Regions from separate parts of the Homo sapiens genome. Here region 1 is linked to region 2. The links are contacts of gene promoters, found by promoter capture Hi-C in human tissues and cell types (Jung and others, 2019). All regions are on one chromosome and are shown on one strand. Each heading gives the region's core, a stretch centred on a gene start or on the middle of the fragment in contact. The rest is flanking DNA. Distances are from core to core; before and after follow the strand shown. Region 1 overlaps LOC105374510 (a long non-coding RNA gene). Region 2 holds the start of MED28 (mediator complex subunit 28).

Region 1 (6,732 bases), core at 2,361-4,860, 1.0 Mb before region 2:
ATTACCTTCTCCTATTTATATTAATTTCTTCTTTCTATTTTCTTTGGTTTTATTCTGTATGTCTTTTCCTAACTTCTTTAGTTGAATGTTTAGCTCATTAATTTTCAGGTTTTTTTCTTTTCATGCTATATATTTCTCTATATGTAATTCTCAAAATACCTACAAGTATGAATGTGTAGTATTTTCTTTATTTTTTAGTTTCAAAGAATATCAAGGCCCGGCCTGGTGGCTCACACCTGTGATCGCAGCACTTTGGGAGGCCGAGGTTGGTGGATCACCTGAGGTCAGGAGTTCGAGACCAGCCTGGCCAACTTGGTGAAACCCCATCTCTGCCAACCAAAAATACAATAATCAGCCGGGTGTGGTGGCATCTGCCTGTAATCCTAGCTACTCAGGAGGCTGAGGCAGGAGAATCATTTGAACCCGGGAGGCAGAGGTTGCAGTGAGCTGAGATTGTGCCACTGCACTCCAGCCTGGGTGACAGAGCAAGACTCTGTCTCAATAAAATTAATAAAATAAAATTAAATAAAGAATATCAAATATCTAAAAGATTTTTTGTACCAATTATATAGAAGCTGTTCAAAAAATTTTCTAAATGAATGAGATAACTGATTTCAAAGTCAATTGCTTTGTAGTCAATGCAACCTGGTCTGAATATTTTCAAGCTTCTGAAATGTATTAAGATTTCCTTTGCAATATATAGTACACGGTTCGTTGTTGTAAATACTCTGTGTGAAGAATATGTATTCTCTGATTCCTTAACTCAGGACCCTATGTATACCTTTAAATAAGACTCATTAACTGTGTTGTCAGAGTCATCTATATTCATCAATTACCGAGAGAGAGATATGTTAAAAATCACTCACTCTAATGAGAAATTGTACAATTTCTCCCTGTAGTACAGTCATTCTTTGCTTTATGCATCTCAGAATCAGCGTATCATCTGCCCACTCAATATTTGAATTGAGCACATAAAATATTTTTTGTTAATTAAACTTATTATAACTTTGCGCTTGGAGTCATTTCCAAGGATACAGGATAAGAGGGAGGATATTCCATTAAGCAGAAAACCCTCACTGCCCTGCCTCTAGGTGGTTGATATTGGTGGAGTTCCTTTCCTTTTCATTATGGACCAGGCAGAGACAACAGCTGAAGCTGAGAGTTGGAATTTTTGCTCCACTCTCAGGTGGAGATTCTTCCTTCAGTGCTGTGGCTAGAGTAGGTCCTTTCAGTGGATGAAAGTTTCTCCTTACTTCTTTAGGGAAAATGATTGTGAGACTGTCTTTGCAACTGACAGCAGTCAGACATGACACAAACATGAGATGCCCCTGGATTGAAGTCTCAGCCCCATCTTTACTCACCACGTGATACTGAGATATTCAATCAACCTCTCTCTGTAAGCTTCACTTTAACCAGCTCTAAATTGGTAGGAGGGAAAGGTGTTTAGGTTGAGAAAGAGAGTATTATAATTATTTAAGATAATCTGCAGAAATCCTACATCAGGATACCTGGAAAACACAGTCACTGAATAGACCTCAGTCAGCATTTATTTGCTTCTTTCTCTCTCATTTGTTTTAGTTTACAGGCTGAATTTGGTGGTGGTAGGAGAGAGACAAACTCCTAGATCTGTCCATGAGCTGTGAGAAACAAGCATCATCTTTCAGTGGAGTCCTGCTGCATCCTGGGACACAGTTTCTCAGGATTGGCTCAAGGCCACTCTTCAGTAAAACCATCTTACTCCTACCATGGGGAAATCATGCACTTTTCCCATCCATTTCTGCCATGACACACAGAGCCACTATTTGTTCAGATGAAAATGACATTATTTGCCATGAATCTTCCTAGAAAGTAACTCAACCACAGAGTTCCATGCTTGTTTCCCATACATGAAACTTAACATATATACATGAAGAAAAGTTGGGACTATATTTGCTTGGGCCACCGTAACAAAATACTTCACACTGAAGAGCTTAAACAACAGAAATTTATTTTCTCACTGTTCTGGAGACTAGGAGTCTAAGATCAGGGTGCCAGCATAGTTGGGGTCTGGAAGCGGCACGCTTTCTCTCTTGCAAATGGGCATCTTCTCTCTGTGTCCTCACATAGCAGAGAAAGGGAGTCCCAACTCTTTGCTGCCTCTTCTAATAAGGGCACTAATCCTGCCATGAGGGTCATACCCTTATAACCCCATCTAAACCTAATTATCTCCCAAAGGCCCCATCTCCAAATACCACTGCATTGGGGTTAAGCCTTCAACATATGAATATTGTAGAAACATAATTCAGTCCATAACAGACATCAAGTAATTACTCCATTTGGTCTTTGACTCACAAAATCCTAAAGCCATGCATTTACTGCGCATGTTACAGGCCTGCCAAAAACTACCTCAATTTAACCTATTTAAAAAAAAATCCTTTGAGCATCCAATACAGAGCAGCTGAAAAAGCAGGTTCCTTTAAAAATTTGATTCACTGAAAATGAGAGATGCTGTGGCATGTGTGCGGCTATCCAATTCAGAAAATGTTTGCCTTAAAGAAATACTTCTCCTTACCAGAAAACAATGGAGAGGGGCATTTGCAGTTCCAACTTCTTTAACTACATTTGTTTTTAAATCAAACACTTGTAAAATGTGTCAAATTATAAAGGCAACCTGACTTAAGCTCTGCAGTGTAATTTACTGATTTTTCACTCACCTTGCTGAAACTTACAGTCCAGCTCTTGAGAAAGTGGATGTTGCTGAACCCTAAGCAGCTAGGGTTTGGGGAATAGTATAGAGAGAAAAGAGAAGTTCCAGCTGGAGATACTGTCTTCATCTCTGAATTCCTGTGGGGATATGTCTATCACCTCTTCTCAGGCATGTATCACTTTAGCTTTGATATAGAAGGTATTTACGTGTGGCTGACAATTTCATGTCCCAGTGGATAGAGGAAATGAATGTGGAAAAGCACTTACATTTGACCAATGAGAAAGAATTGGTTGGTGAAGTGGATGTGACAGGAACTGGGAAGAAAATGTTCTTCTTACATACACTGTTCTCATTTCTATGACAATCAAGACAATCAATTTCAAACAGTCTATCTTGACACCCCCAAAAGCACATAGGTATTTGTCAGGTTACATTTCCTGGTTTGAGTTCCAGGTAATTTGGTCTGAAACTGGGTTCATTTCCATTTTCGGTGTTTTGGGCTGACTTCTTTAAGACTAGAAAATCTAATGCAGTGACTCAGAATAGAGAATCAGTACATTTGTTTTGTTAAATAGATAATAAAAACTTGAAACTAGGAAGAGGCTCATGAATACAAAAATCTGAACCCTTCCTGTTTTCTCCTCTTAGGGAAGTAAAGTTAGAATTTCTGCCTAACTTTATCATCTCCTTCTGCTTTATACTAACACCTAAGGCAAAACAAACAACAAATATTGATTGATGTTTCTATGGGCTAGGGAGGAGAGCTCAAATTTCTAGCACCTAAATGCTAGGCAATGTATTTGACATTTTTTGCATGCCATTTAATCTTCAAAATAACTCTACAAAATGAAAATTAATATTTGTCATATAACTGAAGAGAAAGCTAAGATTGATGGAGATTGGCCAGGCTCATGCCTGTAATCCAAGCACTTCGGGAGGTTGAGCGGGATGGATCACTTGAGGACAGAAGTTCAAGACCAGACTGTCTAACTTAGTGAAACCTCCTCTCTACTAAAAATACAAAAAAATTAGCTGGGCATGGTGGCAGGTGCCTGTAATCCCAGCTACTCCTGAAGCTGAGGCACGAGAATCACTTGAATCCAGGAGGCGGAGGGTGCAGTGAGCCGAGATCGCACCACTGCACTCCAGCCTGGGCAACAGAGCAAGACTCCGTCTCAAAAAATAAGAAATAAGTAAATATTGATGGATATTGAGCAGAGCTAGGATTCCAATATTAAAAACCTCTAAGCTAAGTGCCTTGACAGGATATAAAGCAATACTCATTCTGAACCTCACTGAAGCTGTATGGCCTAATTAGGGGGACTCACAGGCTTTTTCAAACTTAGAACTCAAAGATCTCAGCATCTAATCTACTAAGTTTGTCATAGACATGAAACAAAAGCACAGATTCCTACAGAAGCGGGACAGGGACCAAACAGCTAGTAATAGCCAGTCAGTCTAGAAATAGGGCCTCCTGACTCACAGGTTGGCAGGGTGATGTGCCTTATTTAGTCTTCTCACTGCGTCTTCCATGTATTCGGGAAACAAGGATGGTGACACATGGTCCCCTCTGTTCATACTTTAGTTGGGAAGAAAGAATATGGCAAGTAATCACAACACAATGTTAGACTAGAGAAAGGGAATAAGAAGCTCTATTAATGAGAGCATTTCTTAGTATTCTTGCCTGCTAGTGAGATTAAGTCAACTCTATCTAGTTAGGCCAAAAATACTGGTGAAATTCAGGGAAGATTTAAATAACCAATGTAATAGAACAGGGTGGCCTACGGACTTCATGTATGGCTAGAATGGGGAACATAAACACTGCCGTGACTCTCTAATTATTTTTTCTTTTACACCTTTGTGTATTTTAGCTTCACTGTCTCTCACTTCAGAGCTATAGGCAGGAAGTGTGGAGGCACACAGGTCCCAAAAGCAGTCATGTCCTTCCAACTCAGTGCTTGTTATCCCCACTTCAAACCCTTTCTTCCAGTCACATTGAAATAACCCTGGTTCTCAAGGTAATACACTTTCTTGCTGACTTGAAGATCTTTTTTGTATGATATTTCCTCTACCTCAAATGTTCTTCTACTTCCTGGTCTTTAATAAATGCTCTTCATCCTCAGATATCAGCTTAGAAATCACTTCTTTCACAGACCCCACTAATCCAGGTTAAGTTCTCCTCTTTTCATATCACTAGAGTGGTGTCTACCTAATCTTTCTAGCTCTTTATCACAATATGGGGAATTTTTTTCAAAAAATAAATCTCTTCTACTAGATTGTTAACTCTTTTGGGGTAGGGACTATGTCTCTCTCATTCAGAGTTATAATCTAAATTTGTAACATAGTACCTGACATATAGTATCCACACATATGTGTTGAATTAATGAATACAATGAATATGTAGTAAATGAAGCAAAGCTTCTGTAAATGTCTGAATGACCCATGTTCTCTCAGGTGTTTTCATGTTTAATACATCATCTTGGAATGCACTCCCCTTTGATGTTTCTGGCCAACCATTCCCAGAGCAGCAGTCGTCCCCTCTAGAAAAGCTTCTCCATATCCCTCTCCACCTCCCAAAGCTATTTCTGTTGCCATACTTCATTCTTCCGACTTCTATAATGGATAGATTTTCTGTTCTCCTCCACCAGTTTATGAGCCCTTCCAGAACAATGTCCTGTTTGTCTTTGCAAACCAGCTCCTAACATTTAGTAGACAAAATACATTCTCATTTAATGCACTGTATGTAAATGATAGATGGATGATTATAACAAGCTATTTGAATATTTATCTGTAAATGTTACATTGACTCTGTTAGAAAATTGCCTTTTAACACAGTTTTTTAAATCACTTCTTAGACACTGGCCACATTACCAGTATATGATGCTATTCTTGTCTCAAAATCAAGGCACTGAAGTCTGCCATTTGGGACCTGTTGAGGGACCTGTGAAAATCAATTTCCTACAATAAATTGTCTTAAGCTAAAGGTCAACACACTTAAACTGAAACTCAAAGGTTTCTTTAAATTCACTGAAACAAGCCCTTTCATTTGGCATATGCTTCCCAAGACAAATTTTCTCTTCCAAAATTGGAAGAGGCCACATCTATGTTTTAACACTGATTTGTGAATATTCCCTGGAATAATTTATATCTTTTTAGTTTTGTTTGTTTGTTTTGTTTTGTTTTTTTTTTTTTGAAACAGAGTTTTGTTCTTGTTGCCCAGGCTGGAGTGCAATGGCATGATTTCGGCTCACTGCAAGCTCTGCTTCCTGGCTTCAGGTGATTCTCCTGCCTCAGCAAGTAGCTGGGATTACAAGAGCGTGCCGCCACGCCCAGCTAATTTTTGTTGTTAGTAGAGACAGGGCTTTGCCATGTTGGCCATGCTCGTCTTGAACTCCTGACCTCAGGTGATCTGCCAGCCTCTGCCTTACAAAGTGCTGAGATTACAGGCATGAGCCATCGTGCCTGGCCCCTTTTAATGTTATGGTTTATGAACTTATTAAAGTGCAAAGATTTTATGATCTTTCTAACTGTAGAATAGCATAGCTTGTTTATTAAACTGCAGAGTCACTGTAGAGGTCCTGATTCTTTGATTTAGCTTACTATAAAGTAGGAATAAATAAACCAATCAATAAGTAAATTTAAGTATCTTTAACTTTGCTGATTGTGACCACTCATCTATGGGATTTGGCCCACGTGAAGCAGATCACAGAATGTGGTTGCTTCTACTGTTTTCCATAGGAAATCCAGTCATGTTCATAACCCTATACTACTTATTAGATCTGTTCTGTGAAGATTACATGGTGGTTCTAAGACCCTGGAAAGATCAGCTTTTGGATAATAGAAAGTAATTATTGCAGCTTCTAGTTATGCTTTCCACTTTGGAAAGTCACTGCTCACAACAACAGAAAAAAGAGAAGAGGTTTAACACCAACATTTAAATGCTCTGGCCCAGAGGCAACATGTCACGTTTGCCCAATATCATAAGCTGGAAATACTCATATAACAACACCTAACCCCAAAGTAACACAGAAATCCTCAAACATACC
Region 2 (6,477 bases), core at 3,131-5,630:
CAAACTACACTTGGTGTGAGGCAGACAGATCTGAGCTCAAATTTAGAACATTACCTACATGTGAGGGCCCTTTAACGAGCAAAAATTCTGCCTGCCTGCAGCTCCCGCGCTTGATTTACAGAGAAAGTAAATCAGAAAAACAGATTGCCCATTCTCAGGATTACTTTGAACATTGACTCCTGGCTGGGCACGGTGGCTCACGCCTGTAATCCCAACACTTTTGGGAGGCCCACGCAGGCAGATCACGAAGTCAGGATCCTAACTAGGAAGGCAGATCCACGAAGTCACCATCCTAACTAACACGGTGAAGCCCCATCTCTAATAAAAATACAAAAAATTAGCTGGGCATGGTGGCACGTGCCTGTAGTCCCAGCTACTCGGGAGGCTGAGGCAGGAGAATTGCTTGAACCTGGGAGGCAGAGGTTGCAGTGAGCCAAGACTGCACCACTGCACTCCAGCCTGGGTGACAGGGCGAGAATCTGTCTCAAAAAAAACGAAAGTTGACTCTTGTTGGGTTTGGGATGTGGGTAGGATGTACTTCCTTTGTGAGACCTATGGCTACTGGAAAACATCCCATTAATAGGCCAACCAGTCACAAACTGGCCAAAAAAGTTGGGCCAGCTCCCCTGAGCCAGGAGGCCTACCAGACAGGGTGGCAGGAAATCTCATCTCAAGAATTTTACTGCCCTCCACCCACTCAAGAAAAAAATTTAGGGTCCGACATGGTGGCTGACGCCTGTAAGCAACAATTTTGGAGGCCAAGATGGGTGGATCACTTCAGTCCAGGAGTTCAAGACCAGCATGGGCAACGTGGTGAAACCCTGTCTCTACAAAAACAAAAATTAGTCAGGCGTAGTGGTGCGCACCTGTAGTCCCAGCCACTTGGAAGGCTGAGGCAAGAGGACCACTTGAGCCCAGGAAGTGGAGGTTGCAGTGACCCAACATCGTGCCATTGCACTCTGGCCTGGGTGACAGAGTGAGACTCTGTCTCAAAAAAAAAAAAAAAAGAAAAGAAAAGAAAAAAAAAAGATACACAGGCCTTTATAGACAGTTGGACAGCTGTATTAAGAAGAAAATGTGTGGTAGCTTAGAAAGAGAACATATATTTTTTTTTTGAGATGGAGTCTCACTCTATTGCCCAGGCTAGAGTCAGTGGCACGATCTTGGCTCAATGCAACCTCTGCCTCCCGGGTTTCAGCGATTCTCCTGCCTCAGCCTCCCAAGTAGCTGGGATTAAGGCGTGTGCCACCAGAGACCACTAATTTTTGTATTTTTAGTTAGAGATGGGGTTTCACCATGTTGCCCAGGATGGTCTCGAACTCGTGACCTCAAGTGATCCAGCCACCTTGGCCTCCCAAAGTGCTGGGATTACAGGCGTGAGCCACCGCATCTGCCTAGAAAGAGAACAGCTTTTTAAAAGCATGGCTAAAACAGAGCCTTTGCCTGGAAAGTAAGTGCTTGTCCTCATTTCCACAAACCCAACGGCTGGCTTTCAGCAAGTAACTTGCCCTCACTGAGCCTCAGTTTCTCTACCTATGAATGGAGGAAATGGAACTAGATGGTCTCCAACGTTCCCTCCAAAATCAAGAGTGCATGAGCTCAATAAATTCCTTCCATCAAAGAGCATGTGCTAAGCAGCTAGAATGAGCAGACAGAGACCTCAAGGAGTGGCACCCCAATAGGAATGAGAAGCAGGTAAGTAGGTGCTGCTATGTGCCACTGGAGGCTGTGAAAATTGAGGTCCACACAGAACACAAGGAAGGAAACAGGAAAAGTTCCAAAGAAAATGTGGCCTTTGAATTGAATCGTGAGACAAGACTAGACAGATCGTGATCACCCAGCAGCAGAGAGGATCCAGCTCGCACCACTCCCACTCCCCTTCACCTGGCTAAGTCAAAATGCTTCTTTGGCTTTCCTGCTCTCTGGGAAGCCTTCTTTGATGTCCACACCTATATGTGCTCCCACAGTACCCCAGGTTTCTTCTATCAGAGCAGTGATCCTACAACAAGGCAACTGCCTGCCGTTTATTACAAGCTTCCTGAAGGCAGGGACTGGTTTTCTCTGTATTCTCTGTATGGATAATCAAGTCCCAGAGGGAGTTCTCTCTCAAGGGCACCTACAGACATATATGTGAATCAGGCAAGGAGTTCTGTGCACAAGCCAACTACACTACAGGCTCCACACTACAGATTCCTTCAATGTCTGACAAATATTCATCTAGCACTTGCTATCTACTACCACTGTATTAGCACTACAGGTTACACAATGTGAGGGGTGGGGGTACAAAACAGGTAGTCTCTGACTTCATGGAGCCGAATTTAATGGTAAGTATTAAAAAGAAGGCCAGGGAAGGGTCCACTGAGGAAGTGATGCAGTGAGCTGAGGAGCGGCCTGGAAGCCCAAAGAGAAAACAAATGGTACACGTGGGAAAGTCTTGTGTGGCTGCAGTAAGGAAACGAGTCTGAAGGAGAGAACGCAACATGCAAAGCCTGGGAGACCACACTAAACATCTTGATCTTATCTCAAGGGCAACAAGCAGCCACTGTACGTTTTTAAGCAGCAGGGTGCTGGGAGTCAACTTTGGCTAAGACTTGTACAGGGCCAGTCTTTCAGCAAGTGCCCATGACTGAGAGCCAGCTCCCCTCAAGCACAATGCTAGATGCTGCTCTAAAGTTCACCAGCCCCTTCCTTTACCACTTAGCACCACCTCAAAGGTGTCTCCTCCTCCTCCTCCTAAACGGTCTGTCCTTTAAATCATTTATTTCTGGCTAGGCGCAGTGGCTCACGCCTGTAATCCCAGCACTTTGGGAGGCCGAGGCGGGTGGATCACGAGGTCAGGAGTTCGAGACCAGCCTGGCCAAGATAGTGAAGCCCTGTCTCTACTAAAAAATAAAAAAAATAGCATGGTGGCAGGTGCCTGTAATCCCAGCAACTCGGGAGGCTGAGGCAGGAAAATCGCTTGAACCCGGGAGGCGGAGGTTGCAGTAAGCCGAAATTGCGCCACTGTACTCCAGCCTGGGCGAGAGAGTGAGACTCCATCTCAAATCATTTATTTCTAAATCTTTGTACATCCGTGTGGTAAAAGCATTTTGTCCATGCAGTCTGAATAATCGCTTGCAAATTATATTCATTTACCACTGTGCTATTAGATACAATACAAAAGTCACAAAGTTGGGATTTTTATTTATTTATATTTTATTTTACTTTTTTGAGACGGAGTCGAGCTCTTGTCACCCACGCTGGAGTGCAATGGCGCGGTCTCCGCTCACTGCAACCTCCGCATCCCAGGTTCAAGCGATTCTCCTGCCTCAGCCTCTCGAGTACCTGGGATTACAGGCGCACGCCACCACGCCTGGCTAATTTTTGTATTTTTAGTAGAGTCAGGGTTTCACCATGTTGGTCAGGCTGGTCTCGAACTCCTGACCTCATGATCCGCCAGCCTCGGCCTCCCAAAGTGCTGGGATTACAGGCGTGAGCCACCGCGCCCGGCAAAACTGGGATTTAAAATGTGGAAAAGTTAACTCCAATTTGAACGTACATTACTTTATTACTACACAGGAATAGCTCATCTTCCACTTTAAAGACTACTGGAAATCACCAGAGCACTTATTTTCACCTCTCTATCTTCCCTCAATATACAGTTCACCTTTCTTGCTACAAGGTAAACTCCTTGGGCAAAACTGAGAGATTGGGTCACCTGTGCCTCCCTCCCTCCCTAACCTCCAGCATTCCTCCTTCCTCAGCTCTTAGTACCAAGCTGCGCCTGGTAACTTAAGTCAATTTCCGCTCTTAAGAGTCCCTTTAGGATCGTTTAAAGGTGAAGCCCAGCGGAAAGGATACAGGATACAGCAGTGAAACTCTCAGCTCCGAAAAGGCTTGAGCCTCTTACTAAACATGCAGGGATGCAAGAAACGGTGCTCGGGGATGAGACTAAGGACCGGCTGGGAATCTGGAAGGGTTCCAAGTTTGGGGTTTAGGCAAACTTCGGGTTCACGTTTCCACAAACGTCGAGTTTACGCGCCCCCGCCAGCAGACCTGAATTGAATACGGGCCACGGGGAAGCCTAAAGCAAGTGACTTACTTTAAGCCTCAGTTTCCCCATTTGTGAATTAGTTGCTCGGATCCCTGGAGGAGATACGCGTACGCGCAGTTCACGTTTCAGAAAAAAGGGAAGGCTAGGGACAAAGACGCCCATGTCTTATATTACCTCGAAAGATGACTCCAACTCGTCCACCAAAGTACTGCTGGAAGGTCTAGGAGCGCCTGGAGCTGCCTGAAGAAGCGAAGCTTGGCCCGGAAGGCCCGGCGGGGCCTGAGGGGGACCGGGTGGCTGCCCAGAAAACATACCCCCTAGTGGAGCCGCCATGTTTGGAATGGCGCAAGAGAGATCCACTGCGCCTGCGCGGAAGCCGGCTCAGAAGCTCACGTGGCTGGTGTAGTAGGCGTGGTCACGTGACAGGACCGAGCGATGGGAGGATTCTGGTGCACCCCGGAAGGAGGATTTTTAATTCTTCTGTTTTCTTGTCTATCGCAAAACAGAGTTTACATGTATTTTCCTTTTTTCTTAGCTTAAGAATTGAAGACTTTGGCCGGATTAGACCTGGTTGTGTGGAGAGGAGAATTAATAACTACAGTGGAGCGAGCCCTCCTGCGAGAGTCAGGATACTACTATGCTAGTCCCGACTCTGCCCCAAATGCCTGGAGAGACTTTGGCTAAGTCACTTTTTCTTTCCGCGGGCTGTTTACCGTTGGTAAAAGGAGAGGGTCACCCACTCACTCCACAAACATTTGTTGAGTCATTGGTTATAGCGGGAACAAGACAGGCAAAGTTCTTCCTGAATTCTGGTCGGAGATGGATAACGGAAACAACTTTGTTGAGGTTCCCAATGTGCCCGGCACTGATGTCTTTAAATATTTATGGTTACATCAAAGAGAAAGTCACTATGCTAATCTTTTTTTTTCTTTCTTTTCTTTTTTCTCAGGGTCTCGTTCTGTCGCCCTGGCCGGAGTGCAGTGTCATGATCAGGGCTCGACCTCCCGGGCTCAAACAATCCCCCTACTTCAGCCACCCAAGTAGCTAGGACCACAGGTGCGTGCAGTCGCGACGGGCTTTTTTTTTTTTTTTTTTTTTTTTTTTTAGTTGAGTCAGGTGTTTTACTGAGCTCAAGTGATTCTACCGCCGCGGCCTCCCAAAGTGTTGGGAATACAGTAATGAGCCAAGGCGCCAGGCTGCTAATTTTTTTTTTTTGAGACAGAGTCTCGCTTTGTCGCCCAGGCTGGAGTGCAGTGGCGCGATCTTGGCTCACTGCAAGCTCCGCCTCCCGGGTTCACGCCATTCTCCTGCCTCAGCATCCCGAGTAGCTGGGACTACAGGCGCCCGCCACCACGCCCAGCTAATTTTTTGTATATTTGGTAGAGATGGGGTTTCACCGTGTTAGCCAGGATGGTCTCGATCTCCTAACCTCGTGATCCGCCCGACTCGGCCTCCCAAAGTGCTGAGATTACAGGCGTGAGCCACCGCGCCCGGCACTAGGCTGCTAATCTTGTAGTAACCTGCTTTTAACATTTGCTTATCTCTCTCTTTTTTTTTGGTGACGGAGTCTCGCTCTGTCGCCCAGGCTGGAATGCAGTGGCGCGATCTCGGCTCACTGAAACCTCCGCCTCCTGGGTTCAAGCAATTCTCCTGCCTCAGCCTTCCGAGTAGCTGGGACTACAGGCGCCCGCCGCTCGGCTAGTTTTTCTGTATTTTAGTAGCGCCGGGGTTTCACCTTGTTGCCCAGGCTGGTCTCGAACTCCTGAGCTCAGACAATCCGCCCGCCTCGGTCTTCCAAAGTGCTAGGATTACAGGCGTGAGCCACCGTGCCCAACCTTCTTATTTATCTCTTTAAAACCAAATAACTTTTTTTCATTATATCTGATTTTACAGTTATTACCCAGCACACTTACTGAGCGCTCCACTTCCCAGGCACTATTTAATGATCTGGAGGTTATAGCAATCATCCCAAATCTCTGGAAGGAGACAGACAAGCACATAAATACATAGCAATATTGTGCAGAGAGAAGAGCTGGGAAGGAAAATGAAACCCAGTAAGGGGATGGCTAGTGAGAGGGGTGTTCTTTGAGATAGGTGATTGGAGGAGGCCTCTCCAAGGAGATCTGGACTGTAGTGACTGGCATGAAAATTTAACTAGGAGTGCTTTCTACACCGAAGGATCCCTGAAGAAGCAGCCTGCCTGGGATGTTTAAGGAACCACAGGAAGCTCATTGCCAGAGGAGTGAGCCAGGGCAGAAATGTTCAGAGAAAAAGCAGGAGCTTCCCTTTGCCAACCAGGCTCGGATCAAGTCATCTTCCCAGCCTCAGTTTCACTTAGATCCCCACTCCTAAGTACTTTCCCCTGTTTAATTTTCTTCACAACATTTATGTAATCTGAAATTATCTTGTTCATTTTTTCATAACTGAATCACCTGCCCTCCTCC

The links. The method cuts DNA at HindIII sites, captures the fragments that hold promoters and counts their contacts. A contact is called where the count stands out against the background at its distance.
Region 1: a contact is called between a fragment that was not itself captured here and the fragment with the promoter of MED28 in region 2, in 1 of the 25 tissues and cell types used here (dorsolateral prefrontal cortex).

Annotation. Positions count from the first base shown.
Region 1 is chr4:18,616,189-18,622,920 of GRCh38, reverse strand. The region is part of intron 1 of LOC105374510 (a long non-coding RNA gene); the gene reads right to left. Among named protein-coding and RNA genes, the nearest start is that of LCORL, 600 kb to the right of the region's middle. The HindIII fragment of the contact is 5,154 bases long and covers 1,034-6,187 here.
Region 2 is chr4:17,612,544-17,619,020 of GRCh38, reverse strand. It overlaps MED28 (mediator complex subunit 28), which reads right to left and starts at 4,380. Exons shown (of 4, transcript NM_025205.5): 1 at 4,208-4,380. The coding sequence starts at 4,366. It overlaps MED28-DT (MED28 divergent transcript), which reads left to right and starts at 4,441. Exons shown (of 3, transcript NR_186331.1): 1 at 4,441-4,879; 2 at 4,983-5,089. RefSeq lists enhancers at 4,231-4,340, 4,441-4,730, 3,836-5,035. The HindIII fragment of the contact is 9,307 bases long and covers 3,162-6,477 here.